2 separate regions of the Homo sapiens genome follow, and region 2 is linked to region 1. Evidence: promoter capture Hi-C in 16 types of primary human blood cells and fetal thymus (Javierre and others, 2016). All regions are on one chromosome and are shown on one strand. Each heading gives the region's core, a stretch centred on a gene start or on the middle of the fragment in contact. The rest is flanking DNA. Distances are from core to core; before and after follow the strand shown.

The links. The method cuts DNA at HindIII sites, captures the fragments that hold promoters and counts their contacts. A CHiCAGO score of 5 or more calls a contact.
Region 2: a fragment that was not itself captured here is called in contact with the fragment with the promoter of SDSL in region 1 in 1 of 17 cell types (M0 macrophages); the score reaches 5.5 in M0 macrophages.

The regions. Positions count from the first base shown.
Region 1 is chr12:113,417,173-113,424,597 of GRCh38, reverse strand. It overlaps SDSL (serine dehydratase like), which reads right to left and starts at 2,218. Exons shown (of 8, transcript NM_001304993.2): 1 at 2,121-2,218. RefSeq lists an enhancer at 5,961-6,461. The HindIII fragment of the contact is 13,599 bases long and covers 1-2,426 here.
Region 2 is chr12:113,285,226-113,292,650 of GRCh38, reverse strand. TPCN1 (two pore segment channel 1) reads right to left here. Exons shown (of 28, transcript NM_017901.6): 18 at 6,690-6,762; 19 at 5,557-5,664; 20 at 4,417-4,488; 21 at 3,804-3,893; 22 at 2,408-2,523; 23 at 1,653-1,699; 24 at 974-1,042; 25 at 693-777. It overlaps MIR6762 (microRNA 6762), which reads right to left and starts at 1,128; the gene lies at 1,043-1,128. RefSeq lists an enhancer at 4,764-4,931. The HindIII fragment of the contact is 2,017 bases long and covers 1,184-3,200 here.

The DNA of each region.
Region 1 (7,425 bases), core at 969-3,468:
TTACAGGGCACCTACAAGATGCAGGCCCTGACCTAGCAACAGGGGATACCACTGTGGACAAGATAGACATCAACCTTGGAGCTGAATTATAGCCTGATGAGATGGGCACTTAACAAATAACTGCATAGACAAACAAAATAATCAGAAATGTTGAAAACTTCTAAGAGGGAAACACGCATATAGGGAGTCCTAAAGAGAAGAACAAGGGGACCTACTTTGGGTATGGAGGTCAGGAAAGACCTCTTAGAGGAAGTGACCATTAAAACTAAGAACTGAGACAGGGCGCGGTGGCTCATGCCTGTAATCCCAGCACTTTGTGAGGCAGAGGCAGGCGGATCACCTGAGGTCAAGAGTTCAAGACCAGTCTGGCCAACATGGAGAAACCCCGTCTCTACTAAAAATACAAAATTAGCCGGGCATGGTGGCGCATGCCTGTAATCCCAGCTACTCGGGAGGCTGAGGCAGGAGAATTGCTTGAACCTGAGAGGCGAGGTTGCGGTGAGGCGAGGTTGCAGTGAGCCGAGATCGCGCCATTGCACTCCAGCCTAGAGAGTAAGAGGGAAACTCTGTCTCAAAAAAAATAATAAAAAATTAAAAATTAGACCCGAAAAATGAGAACCAACCAACCACACAACAAACTGCAAGAAGAGCGTGTACATGGCAGGACTATTGTGAGGATTCAATGAGCCTGCATGGTAAGGGCACCCATGTTGGGTGTCTGTCCACTTGGAATTGGGTCTCTCTTCCTTTTTGGTGAAATCCCCAGATTTTTCCCCTGGGGATCCTGGGATTGTCAGGATGAACTCCCCCTACTCCATAATCCTTCCGCTTTCTTGTTTTTTTGGTGTTTGTTTTAGAGACAAGGTCTCACTCTGTTGCCTGGGCTGGAGTGCAGTGGCACGATCATGGCTCACTGTAACCTTGAAGTCCCGGGCTCAAGCAATCCTCCCACCTCAGCTTCCTGAGTAGCTGGAACTGTAGACATGCACCACTGTATCCGGCTGATATTTTAATTTTTATAGAGATGCAGTTTTGCTGAGTTGTCCAGGCTGGTCTTGAACTCCTGGCCTCAGGTAAATCTCTTGTCTCTGCCTCTCAAAACACTAGGATAACAGGTGTGAGCCACCTGTTGGCTCACAACAGATGAGTCATTAACTCACCATTGACTCCATTTTATAAACAGTGAACCTGAGGTCCAGAGAGATTAAGTAACTTATCCAAGTTCACACAGTTAGAAACAGCATAGCCAGAATTCACACCAGGCAGTGTCTTTGGCATCTGTGCTATTAACCGCGATGCTATACTTTCTCTAATATACTAGTGTTATCGTTACTATTATGAAAGCTGCATGCATTTAATATTTATTGCCAATTGTCCTTTGGAACCAAATGCTCCTGGCTCAGTTTCCAGGCTTCCCCAGCCCTCTTGGTTATACTGACTCACAAGAGGACAGCAGGCATCAGTTAAATGAAAAAGCCCCAAGTTGCCAACAGCCTTATCAACCCCAGACCCCATCAGGCACCTGAGGTCTGGGACTGAGCTGTCTTGGCCCAGGGACACACACCTCTTGTCCCGTATGGCAGCCACCAGGGCTGAAATGGGGGACCTGGGTCTCCCTGCTGTGGAATAACCCAGGGGAAAGCAGGGGGCTCAGGCTCAGGTCCCAGTCATGCCAACCTTGGCCAAGTCACTTTTGTCACTGGGCCTTACCTGTCACATCTATGAGTTGAGGTAAGGACCACCAGTGCTGTCCACCTCACTTGTCCCCAAAGCCTTTCCCCAGAGGCCACCTTGGTGGCACTCCACAGCCAAATCCCTGGTGCCAGGGCTGGGACACCTCGGGCTGGCCCCTTGGCTGGCAGAATGCCCAACCCTGCCCCTCTGGCAGGCAGAACCCACTCTCGCCCTTCAGGGTCCCCAGCACAACACTTTCTTCTGCAGGGCACCCTGAATTCAATCGACATTCCCAGGAGGGCCTAGAACACGCTCAGGCCCTCTCACTCCCACCTGCTCAGCTTGGACTTTGCCCAAAGCCTCCCAAACTCCTGCAGCCTCTCATCAGCCTCTCATTCACACACACACTGAGCCCCAGGGGCCCCAGCTGGCCCCAGACCCCTTACCTCCCTGCCCAACTATCCCAGACCAGCGTGGCCCCAGCTCCTGCCCTCCAGCCTGCCAGGGAACCAGCTCTTTCCAGGAACCGGCTCTGTCCAGCTTCAGGCAGCTTCCGGCAACCTTGGTCCCTCCTCCTTTGTTAAAGAGAAAGCTCCAGACCCTAAGCCTCCGGGTGAAGACGGAGGAGGAGAGGGGATGAGAGCAACCCTCACCGCTTTCCCGGGCACTGCCTATGACTCATGCACCACCCTGTCTCATTTGACAGATGAGCAAACTGAAACTCAGAAAAGGGAACTTATTTGGCCAAAGCTTCCCAGACAGCAAGGGGCAGAGACAGCCTTTACCCCTGGCCCTGGGCCATCTCTTCCGGGATGCAGGCATCTCCATGTCTTCTCATTTTAGGTCTAGTGATTGTCCCGGATGCTGAACCACTGTTGGGGTCAGCTTAGGTCTGGGATGGGAAAACAAGGACAAGGGAACTTTTTTTTTTTGAGACACAGTTTCATTCTTGTCCCCCAGGCTGGAGTGCAATGGTGCGATCTCGGCTCACTGTTACCTCCGCCTCCTGGATTCAAGCGATTCTCCCACTTCAGCCTCCCAAGTAGCCAGGTTTACAGGCACCCACCACCACGCCAGCTAATTTTTGTATTTTTAGTAGGGACAGGGTTTGACCATGTTGGCCAGGCCAGTCTCGAACTCCTGTCCTCAGGTGATCTGCTTGCCTCTGCCTCCCAAAGTGCTGGGATTACAGGCGTGAGCCACTGCACCTGGCCAAGGAAACAATTATTATAATTATTATTTGTGACATGGGAAAGGTATATTTTTGTCTGAAGCACCTCTCCGTCTCGGATATTTTACACGCAGCATGAGAACCCAAGCAATTATTTGCTACTCAGATGAATGACTGACCATTCATTCATTCATTAAATGTTTATTGGACACCTACTATGTGCCAATCCCTGGAACTTTGGCCTCAAACAAAATAGCATGTCCTCTGCCTTCACAAAGCCCTTAGAGAGGGCCATTAGAGAGCACTTATTAGTGCTATCAGATGTTAGCAGCTGGCAGGGTGGGGCAGGGCTGTGGAACCCAGAGCAGGCACCCCGCCTGGCCCTGGGGGGCTGGGGAGGCTTCCTGGAGGAGGGGAAGTCTGAGTGGAGCCAGGAGTCAGGCACAGGGAGTGCAAAGGTCTGGAAATGAAAAACATGATATATTCCAGGGTCAGGGTAGTATCCAGTGGGGCTGGGAGGGAGAAGGCAGGGGTGGGGAAGCAAGTGGGGTTGAGGCTGGAGATGTGGGCAGAGATCAGAGTCCACAGGGATGCCTGTACCAATCCAGAGTTTGGACCTTACCCAGGGGCACTAGGGAGCCACAGAAGGCTTTAGGTGGGGGGAATGACATGGTCAAATTCATGTCTTGTCTCTGCACCATCTCACTGGGTGAACCTGAGCAGCTCGTGCCCATCTCTGGGCCTCAGTTTCCCTATGTGGAAAGTGGGAACAGGAAGACCTGGCATCACAGATGTTGTGTGTCCTTCTTGGGCTGTTTCTGATCTCCCCAGGTTTGATGATTAACTCCCAGCCACTTGGGGTTAGATGGAGCTGCTTGGCCGTGATCCTTAATGTGGACTCTGGCAAGTTTCTACCCATCCTCGCTTTAGACACACATCCATCCTTGTTGGGTGCCTTGTCCTGGACTGGGTACTGGGGACACAGAGGTGATAAAATCCAGTTTGTGCCTTGAAGTGGCCCCCAGCATGGAGGGGAGAGGAAGACACCCAATTCGGTAGCAACAATAACACTTCCTAAGATGACAGAGGGCAGAAAGTCCCCATAGGGTAGCTGGGGATGGGGCAAGATCAGGGAGGGCTTCTTGAAGTAGGCAGAGACTCAGCACACAGCTCAGACTTTGACAAGAAGCAGACTAGCTGCATTTAGTGCATGTCTACTGTACACCAACACGTGCATGCTGTCCAGCGTAACCCACACTGTTTATTTGTTTGTTTGTTTGTTTGTTTGTTTGTTTTACAAACGAGGTCTCACTGTGCTGCCCAGGCTGATCTTGAACTCCTGACCTCAAGCAATCCTCCTACCTTAGCCTCCCAAAATGCTCGGATTACAGGCAACAGCCACTGCGCCCAGCCCCCAAAGGTTTTTTAATAGTTGGCAATCTATTTCTGTGTGCATTAGGAAAGATGTGTGTATGTATGTAGGTATATATATATGTGTATACATATGTATGTGTATGTACATATAAAATATCAGACCCATAGTTTCATGGATATGATGGCTTAGGAAGAAGCTAAGGTAGGTATTAAAGTTTAAAAATGGAGCCTCTTTAAAAAATATATTAATTGGCCAGGCATGGTGGCTCATGCCTGTAATCCCAGCACTTTGGGATGCCGAGGCAGCTGGATCACCTGAGGTCAGGAGTTTGAGCGTGGCCAATGTAGTGAAACCCCATCACTACTAAAAATACAAAAAGCTAGCTGGACATGGTGGTGGGCGCCTGTAATCTCAGCTACTCGGGAGGCTGAGACAGGAGAATCACTTGAACCGGGGAAGTGGAGTTTGCAGTGAGCCGAGGTCGTGCTATTGCACTCCAGCCTGGGCAACAAGAGCGAAATTCCGTCTTAAAAAACATATATAAATATATATATGTGTGTGTGTATATATATGTTTATAAATATATATATTTGTATATAATATATATTTATATAAATATATATACTTGTATATAATATATATATTTGTATACAAATATACATGTTTGTATACAAATATATATGTATATAAATATATATATTTGTATATAAATATGTATATGTATATAAATATATATTTGTATATTATATATATTTGTATATAAATATATATATATTTGTATATAATATATATATTTGTATATAAATTATTAGTAGCAATAATAGTAGTAGTAGTTTCTGGCATGAACAAGCAGCATGCCTAGTAGTTAAAACACAGACCTGCAGCCAGGCTCTGATACAAATACTTGTTCTGCCACTTTCTCACTGTGTGACCCTGTGACCTTTTGTAAGTCACTTAACCTCTCTGTGCCTTGTTCCCTCAAATGTAAGATGGGGATAAAACACTACTTCCCTAGTACAGTGGATGTGAGGATCAAATGCATTAATGCAGGAAAATATTAGGACAGTAGTTAGTGCTCTGTGTTCGCTGCTGTTGCTTTTGCTTTATTTTGTTTTGTTTTTTGAGACAGAGTCTCACCATTCACTCTGTCGCCCAGGCTGGAGTGCAATGGCGCGATCTTGGCTCACTGCAAACTCTGCCTCACGGGTTCAAGGGATTCTCCTGCCTCAGCCTCCTAAGTAGCTGGGATTACAGGCTTGCACCACCACGCCTGGCTGATTTTTGTATTTTTAGTAGAGACAGGGTTTCACCATGTTGGCCAGGCTGCTCTCAAACTCCTGACCTCAAGTGATCTGCCTGCCTTGGCCTCCCAGAGTGGTGGGATTATAGGCATGAGCCACGGCGCCCAGCTGCTATTGTTTTGTATTGCTAATATAAAAGAGGTGATGGGACAATATGGCAAAAGTTGCAAAGGTGGCACGTAAGCGTTCAAAGTACCATGATGTCATTATATTACAGAATGCTAACAACTACCTGGAAAAGTAAGTATTATAATAAACCCTACATTGTGGAAATAGGGCCAGAGAGGCCAAGTCGCTTTCCCAAGGTCACACAGCAGTAGCAGAGTCAGGGCTCAGACCCAGAGGGACGAGGCTCCAGAGCTCCTGGCTTGGGTGACAAAGAGGATGGGCTGGGGAAGCCACGTGGCTGCATTGGAGAGCAGATGAGGCTGGAGAGGTGGGCCAGGTCACTGACCTGTCCCCACCAGAGCCATGTTCGTCAGCCAGCCCCTGTCCCTGACACCTTGGGCCGCAAAACACCCACCCCGGCCAGTCCCCTGGGTTATTCATTAAGCTTCATTACACCATCCTCACCCCTGGCTGACCTTCCTGTTCCCAGGGCAAGGGAATTGCGTGGAGAAGAGGGACGAAGCCTCTGACGCCTGAGATTAGCCTTTCCTTTCCCAATTTGCAGATTTAACCCTGGACTCTTCGTCATATGCTTCCCAAGGCCGAAGGCTTAGTTCCCCTAAATGGCAAAAGAGCTGAGGCTCAGGCAGCCCCAGCTAGTGAGTAATAACTGTGCCGGAATTCGGGTGCAGGTCTCCCAACACCCAATACAACAGAGCATCTTACCTAAGTTCTCAGACTCATCAACCCTGGCCAAGATGACAAATCACTGGAGCACTGGAGACCAGAGAGGGTCTCACACTGGGAGGTCACATTCCCCCTGGCTGGAGCTGGGGCACACTGTCCTCTGTAAAGGGACATGGCTCTATGTGTCTCGCTGTCCTAACCTCTCCCTACTGCAGCCCCAACACCTAACCGCCCCTTGATTGACCCCTTGTAAGTGTTTACCTTTGAGACCTTTATACAGAGGAACTTTCCCTCTGTCCTCTTGCCCTTGAAAAGGAAAGGAATCAGTGATCAAGGGAGAAGCTGAAGCACAGAAAGGTTAAGTAACTTGCTCCAGCTTGCCCAGCAAATAGGCCATGGGACCAATCTTCCAGGGACCCCACATCCAACCTGGATGCTCTTGTCCCAACAGATAGAAATTCACAGCCACAGCGTCTGAGCTGAAAGAATTCACAGAGGCCGAAACTGCCTTTGCAAAGAATATGACAGTGAGAAGTTCAGCCCGGCGGACTCCAGCCTGCTTCTAGCCTCACTGGCTGCGGACTCCAGCCTGCTTCTAGCCTCACTGGCTGCGGACTCCAGCCTGCTTCTAGCCTCATGGGCTGGCCATCCTCATTCCCAGGTATAGGCCAAGCCAACCATGGGAGGAATTCTTTTTTCTTTGAGACAGGGTCTCACTCTGTCACCCAGGCTGGAGTGCAGTGGCAAGATCACAGCTCACTGCAGCCTCAATCTCCTGGGCTCAAACAATCCTCCCACCTCAGCCTCCAGAGTAGCTGGGACTACAGGTGCGTGCCCACCAATTTCATTTTTATTTTTATTTTTTAGAGACAGAGTCTCCCTATGTTGCCCAGGCTGGTCTCGAACTCCTGGCCTCAAGCAATCCTCCCACCTTGGCCTCCCAAAATGCTGAGATTACAGGTGTGAGCCACCATGCCTGGCCCACCATGAGAATTTAATTTAATTTATAGTTTAACTTTGAAGCAAAGTCAGTCACGGTGGTTCACACCTGTAATCCCAGCACTTTGGGAGGCTGAGGTGGAAGGATCGCTTGGGCCAGGAGTTCAAGA
Region 2 (7,425 bases), core at 943-3,442, 130 kb after region 1:
AGATCTGAGGATGAGAGGTAACAAGTGTGGGCACAGGGTTTTCTGTTTCTTTTAAGAGACAGGGTCTCACTCCGCTGCCCAGGCTGGAGTGCAGTGGTGTGATCATGGCTCACTGCAGTCTTGACCTCCTGGGCTCAAGAGATCAAGTGCAGACAGTTTTGATGGAGAATTTGGGAAGAAGGGAGGGTCAGCACACAGAAAGCTGTGCAATCTGGGAAGAGTGAGGCAGTCACTAAAGCCAGCACCATCCAGTTGCAGCAGGAATACGATTCGCCTGTGCCATAAGCAATATTTACACCATTTAAATCAAGAACCGTAGTGTGAACCTATTATTGAGAAACGTGGAGATGACTAACAGAAGAAATAGCCAAGAAGGAGAAGCCTCTGGAGGACGGGAGGGAAAGGCAGGGCAGGGGCTGCTGCTGCCACATAAGCCTTTCTCTACTTCTTGATTTTTCTCCAACTATGACATGCTCTGTCTTATTTTAAAGTTAGATTACGTTTTCTGACATTAAATATTTGAAAATCAATGCAAATACAAGATCTAGAAAGACAAGCCAGATAGATAAGCTGGACAGCCAGACAGCAGAAAAATGACAGCCTGATGGCTGGCTGGACAGCCACCCAGACAGACAGACAGAGCTGGGTAGGCGGCAGATATCAAATGCCCAAGGCATCATCCCTGCACAGACCTTCCGAGTCCTGGTTCTTGCGGCTGTAGTTCATTCGGAAGACGAAGGCCTCGAGGATAAAGGCGACAATGATCGTCATCACCACCTGGCCAGGGATAGGGAGGGAGGGGCAGAGGCAGGGGAGGAGGGTGGGTAGGTGTCCGTGGCTGCGCAGCCCACGCCCAACAGAGTCCGGCCAGATGGGACCCAGCCCCACTCCCTGACGCTGCAGGCTGAAGAGCAGGGGCAGCTGGTGATGTGGAAGACGAAGGACAAAGAGCGTTCTGTGGTCCGGGACCTACCATGGTCACAATGTAAAAGGTCATGAAGTAGAGGCGGCTCCAGTGGGAGGTCTGAGAGGTGACGCCTTCCTGGAGACCAAGGGAAGCAGCCAGTGAGGGGGTGCCCATGCAGGGCAGGTCCCCGTCTACACAGGCTGCTCCATGGCCCCGGCTCTTCGCAGACCCCACCGTGATTTGTGGCTGGTTGTGAGAGATGGAGGAGAGGAAGCTTGCCCCTCTGGGCCTAACACTAATTCCTGACTGCTGAAGGAGCCCTGGCCACTCCCCTGGACGACTGGATCCAGAACCAGGGCAGCCTTTATCCCAGTAGGGCTGGGAGTCGGGAAAGTTTAAGGAATGGAATAAAGAGATCAGCAATGCTCGCCACTTTGTCACTAGAGGGAAAAGTCATCTCTACAGTGGGCGAGACAGGACAGAGACCCAGAGTCTAAGTGGCATCTCCTGGCTGCTGGGGACATGCAGGGAGATGGGAGTAACAGCCGAGTCCAGCCAACACTGGGAGGGGTGGCTCCTGGGGCCCAGCCATCCTGTGGCCTCCCCACTGAACACCAACACAGCATGACTCAAGACCCCCAGCCCTGCAAGCTACGGGAAGAATTATATACTCTGGGTTGGGGGAGACCCAGGGCCGACCCCAGGGCTGGCGGGAAGATACCCCCAGAGCTGCCCGAGCTCTTACCATGATGATGTACCAGTTGTTGACAACTGTGAGCTCAAACAGGGTCACTGCCGAGGGAAGAGAGAAAGAAGCATCCTGATGAGACCCCACTTCAAAGTCAATTTCAAGTGGCCTCTTGCCACCTATCCTGGGTGCCATGTGCTAAGATGAGAGGGTCACCATATGACCGCTTGGGTTGTGAGCTCCAGGAAAGACCAGGCAAGGCACTCCTAGGGCGCTGGCTCCACAGGACATCATGGCCTGCCCCCAAGAGAACACACCCTCTGCCTCAGCAGCCTGTGCCACATCAGACTATCTGGATCTTACTGGGTGCAGATCTGGGGTGTCATGGGGGCACACCCTTTTTCTGGAGAGGCGGTTTGGCTGTGTTCGCCTCTTCATGGGAGTGGGCAGAGGGCTGTGTGCAGTCTGAGCCAGGGGGCAGTGCAGCTGCAGCAGCAGTGGTGTGGCTGGGTCCCATTCTGCAAGTGGCACTGTGATGAGGGGACCCCGCCCAGCTAAGGCTTGCAACTCTTGTCCTCCCCGGTACTGAGAAAATATCAGGAAAGAGTGGAATCAGGCAACTGAGTGAGCTCCAGGATCCAGCCTGGACTGTACTGCCAAAGCTGGGCAGACCAAGTCCTCCACCTGGGCCAGGGAGGCTTCCAGAAAGTGTGGCCCAGACACTTGCTACACCACCTCTGGGACCCGTGGTGACAAGGGTGACAAGGGTGGGGTCCCCAGGGAATGTGCCCCCTGTGATTTTTCCCACTCACCAAAGCTGTTGAGGATGTTGTCAAAATTATTGAGATAATAGTAGCCTTCCTCCACCACGGTCCTGTTGCCCACGGTGTGGTTGCGCCAGCGGTAGGCATCTGCCACTGTACTCGTGCTGGCCGGAGCACAAGGGAGAAAGGAGGGAGGGTCACAAGGCGATCAGTCACCTCCAGAGAGGACAGAAGTCTGAAACAAACCGAGTTCTGGCCAAGGATCCTTCTGTTCTGCCCGCAGCCTGGTTTCCTGCCTAACCCTCTCCACCTCATGCCTGGGTCCCTGCTGAAGGAATGCCCTTGGCTATTCCTGCCTGCTGGGCTTGGCGGGATCCCCTGGCCAGCCTGACCCACCTCTGTCACCTGGAAGTTGTCTGCTGCAGGCAGGGCCTTCTCTCTCACCGTTGCTTGCAGGGGAGGGAGGAGAGGCAAGGGCCTCCTCTGCACCTGCCCCATCTAGGATCTGCTCTTGAGGCTGGACACTAGGCCACAGTCCCAGGGAAGGAATTCCCTACTGGGGCTTCCCCAATACTTGGCCTGAGCAAGTATTTGAAAAGGTTGGCCCTGTTTTGAGGAGCTCTTATTTGCCACTTTCCTTCCAATCTTTTATGGCTGTTCTGTTAATATCCATGCTAATGTTTATAAAAGTCTAGTGCTTGGGCCACCAGGGAGCCTCCTCCCACACGCATGCATCAGACACAAGAGTGAGGTCTGGAGCTTGCACTAAGCTCCCTGGTGACTGCAATGGGCTCTAAAGTCTGGGACCCACTGCTATAGGCTTCTGGTTCCAGACCAAGCTTGACACTCAAACTGGGTCTCAAAGCTACCAGTGTCTTTGTAAAACTGTTTCTTCATCGGTGCTTGAGGCTGTAAAGACCAAATGTAAGAGGACTCTCTGAATTGAGGATGAATGAATGGCAGTGTGCAGTGATTTCACTGTGGCGGCTCAGGAGAAAGGGAGTGCTCATGGGAGATTTCACTCTCTGCTCCCCATCCCTGAGCACCATGACCTTCCTGCACGTGTCCGTCTGTCTTATCCTACGATGCTGTCCCTAGAAGACTGGTCTTGGCCCAGGTCCCCAGCCACTCCAGGAGAGAAGTGGGAGGAAGCCATGGGACTTGACCTTGGGACCCAGGCTACTGTGGGGGTGGCCTCCAGCCCTCGGCAGAGGGTGAGCTGACAGCTCCCAACCCTGCCTGGGGGATGGAGAAACAGGGACCCCGAGTCCAGGCCCCTCATTTAGCTCACTGCACTCAACTAAGCCCTGAAAGCAAAGCAAGGTGGTTGCTTAGACAGGAACATCCCCGAGGACCCCAAGGCCACAAGGACACCAATCCTGGCCCTGGCCAGCCCTCTGCCCGGGAAATGCAGGCTGCCTGGGGCTGGGTGGGGCCTACTCACTTGCAGCAGTTGGGGAAGACGATCCCGCAGAAGAACTCCATGCCCACGATGGCGAAGGAGTAGTAAAAGATGAGCAGGGTGAGGCCCAGGCTGTGGGGCGACAGGGGCAGGGTGACGCGGGGCCGGCAGGAGGGAACGGCTCCTCTGCAGCCCCGGCCTCCTCGGACCCGTGGGGCTGACTGCAGGGCCATGCCCCTGGTCGGTTCACCAACTGGAAAGTGCCTGCGGGGAAGGGGCCTCGTGGGGCAGCTCTGGGGTGAAAAACAGCTCAAGTCAGGACGCTATGAACAAATGCCCCTTTCCCAGAGATTCACCCCTTACCTGTGAAGGTAGACTCACAGGTGACCCCTTACCTGTGAATGTAGACACAGGTGGTAAGCGAGTTGACAGCTCCCTGCCCTCCCTACTAAATATGTCAGACAGGTCAGTGGAGAAAAATGGTGCCCAGGAGACCTGTGGTGGTCAAGATTCCAGGCTCCTTGGAGCCCCGTCAGGCCCTCGATTGCAGTCCTTTGTGGAACTCCTTTCCCCCGACTGCCACTCGGCTCCCGCCCCCACGGGGCACTGCCACACGGCACCTGGACCTGCAGGCCAGGGTGGGGGCTGGCAGTACCTGGCCATCCGGGGCAGCAGCTCGAACATGGTGTCCAGCACGTTGCGGTAGCGCTCCTTCAACTTAAACAACCTGAGCGAGGAGGACACCCGTCACCTCCACACACAGGTGCACGCCTCAGCCCCCGCCCTCAGAACATGCCGGCCCCGCCTTCCACACGCCATGCGGTGAAGACAGGTGAGGGCCTCTCCTCCACCTGCGTCCACTCCCTTGGGCGCCACCAACCCTGAGCTGGGCTCAGGTGATTCATGCATGAGGGAAGGGATGGTGGCAGCCCCAGGACACCGGCTGGGCGGGGTCCTTCCACGAAGAGGAGCAGGGCCAGGCCACATCTCCTTGCAGTAGAGCTGCAGGCTCAGACAGGAGCAAGGCCTTGCTCCTGGGAAAGAGCGGGGAGAAGCCCATGTGCCCCGGGGAGCGGGGGCAATGGAGCTCACCAGTGAAGAAGGGTGGCAGGGGGCGGGACGGAGGCGGACACTCAGGAGCAGCCCCAGGCCACCCCCACACGCCAAGGGGGTAGGCTTTTCCTCCATAGACGCCACCACCCCTCCCCGCACCTGCCCCGCCTGTCCCGCCTTGGGAGAGGATGGGGCGGACGTGGATGGGGTTGCAGCTGGAGGGTCAGGAGGCAAGCCCAGGCTCTGAGGGCACAGGACCTCGGGACCCCTCATTAGGAAGAGACACCGTCAGTGGGGCAGGCTCGTCTGGGACTTTCTCCAGTGTCCCTGGGAAACCAGTGGGACCCACACGAGGGTTTTTCTCCATAAGACGCTGAGCCAGAAAAGCACGCAGGGCCCCTGAAAGGCCCTTCCAACCCTCAGACCTGTGGCTCTGTGATCTGTGACTTGAGCATATGGGCTCCTGTCGCTGGTGCAATGCCACCTCAGGTGGGGTGCACATGAGTCATGGGCTGGGTTTCTCTGCCCAGAGGCACCTGGTGCAGTGAGGGGAAGGGCACAGGCAGCCTGCACACCCTCAGGGGTGGGGATGTTGACCCCATGGTGATTCTCCAGGGGGTGACATCTGTGACTCTGGCTTGTGAACCTTCTGGCTCATTCTGGGTCACTTCCCGGATCAATCCTGGGGCATTCCCGTCCTCCCTCTCTTTCTCCCTGTCTCCGGCTCTGCCCTGCCCATCACCTCAGCAGCTGGAGGGGGCGCAGGACCACGATGAAATAGAAGGGCTCCATGTTGAGGGCCAGCGCCAGCAGTCCCAGGAAGGCGAACACTGTCACGGAGAAGTCAAACCTGCAGTAGGGGAGAGGCCAAGGTCCACCCTGTGGCCCTGAGCCTACCTGCGCCTGCTCCCCTCCCTGGCCCTGTGCACAGCCACCCTCCCACAGAGCCCAGACACAGCAACACCAACAGGAACCAGCCGGCTGCGGGAAGAACTTCCTGCCACCCTGGGGTTTCAAGGTGGCCAGGCCCTGTCCCAGCATGCGTCTCACGGGTCAGGCCTCAGTGCTCTGACCCCAAGGCCAGAAATGCCCGGGAACCCCTACAAAGGGCCCCATGCTGGTCTAACGACAAGAAGGAAAGAAGCCCCGGCCTCTGCAGCCCTGGCCTCCGCAGCCCTGGAGACAGGCCTCGTCTTCCGCTCAACAGACATCTGGTTACACACTGCAGACCAGCCTGACCCCAAGGAACTTTTTGAGGGAAGAGAGCAGGCCCTTCCAGTGAGATTCCCATCGGGAGAACAGCTCGCCCTGCCCCAAGCCAGAGGACCCTCTCTCCTCTCCAGACACGCAGGGCACACACGTGCTGTCGGCTCCTCCCAACTCCGCTCTGCGTGTTAACCCGCTCACCCTCGCGGCCCAAGACCTCATGAGTGCAGCCTGACTTCACAGGCCGGTTAACTTGAACAGGGCAGGGAAGTGACCTCCAACGCTCTGGGGAATAGGGAGAAGGGCCACATGGGGTCTCATTACTGCTGATCAAGGAAGGGGGGGAGCATTCTTTTCTGTGGGCATTGTGGCTTTTATGGAAGAGAAAAAAGTTTAATGAGTCAGGAAGAGCCAATCAGTCTATGGCACCTCAAGAGGCCGTTTCCAGAAGGACGGTGTGGGTGGTCTGAGAGGCTTCAGACAAGGGCCTGACCCTGGGGAGTTCCTGGGCTGTGGGCAGGGCTGCTTGAGGGAGACATAGGCCTCAGCCCATCCTCAGACCCTCCCTCTGCGATTCCAGAAATGGCCCGGGATCAGGGTGTGCAGAGAAGGGTCTGGGGCCATCCTCAAGAGTCTCAGCTTTGGGTCAGAAACATGCTGTCCACTCACAAGTTCCATCCGGAAGACAAGTACTCCACAGGGCCCAGGCCGGCAACCTTCAGGAACAGCTCCACCCCATAGACTGTGGACAGAAGGAATCCATCGGCAGCAGCCCCGCCACATCCTCCCCCATGCTCGGTCTCCTCTTTGAGGCTCCTCCACAGTCTGCAGCCTCCCTGCTGGCCATAAGCCCTCCAGGCTGAGCCCAGGCCTCACTCATGTCCCAGCGTGAGAGCAGGTGCTCCAGGAGAGGGCCTAGATGGTGGCCAACTGGGTAATCTGCTTAAGAGAAACTGGCCAGGCATAGGGGTTCACACCTATCATCCCAGCACTTTGGGAAGCCAAGAGAGGAGGACCACTTGAGCCCAGGAGTTGGAGACCAGCCTGAGCAACATAGTGAGACCCCATCTTTACAAAAAATACAAAAATTAGCCAGGCATTGTGGCGCTGTGTGCCTGTAATCCCAGCTACTTGGGAGGCTGAGGCTACTCGGGATCCCTTGAGCCCAGGAGGTTGAGGTTGCAGTGAGCTATGATCACGCCACTGCACTCCAGCTTGGGTGACAGAGAAAGATCCTGCCCCAAAAAAAGAGAGAGAAATCCTCCCTGCCTGTCTCTGGGCAGGGCCCAGCTAACCATCTGTCCATCCAACAGGTGTGTCCTGACTACCCCTTCTACCTTGGGCCTTGCATTGGGTACCAGGTGTGCAAAAGTGACCAGTGCAGGGCAACCCTGGGGGCACAGAG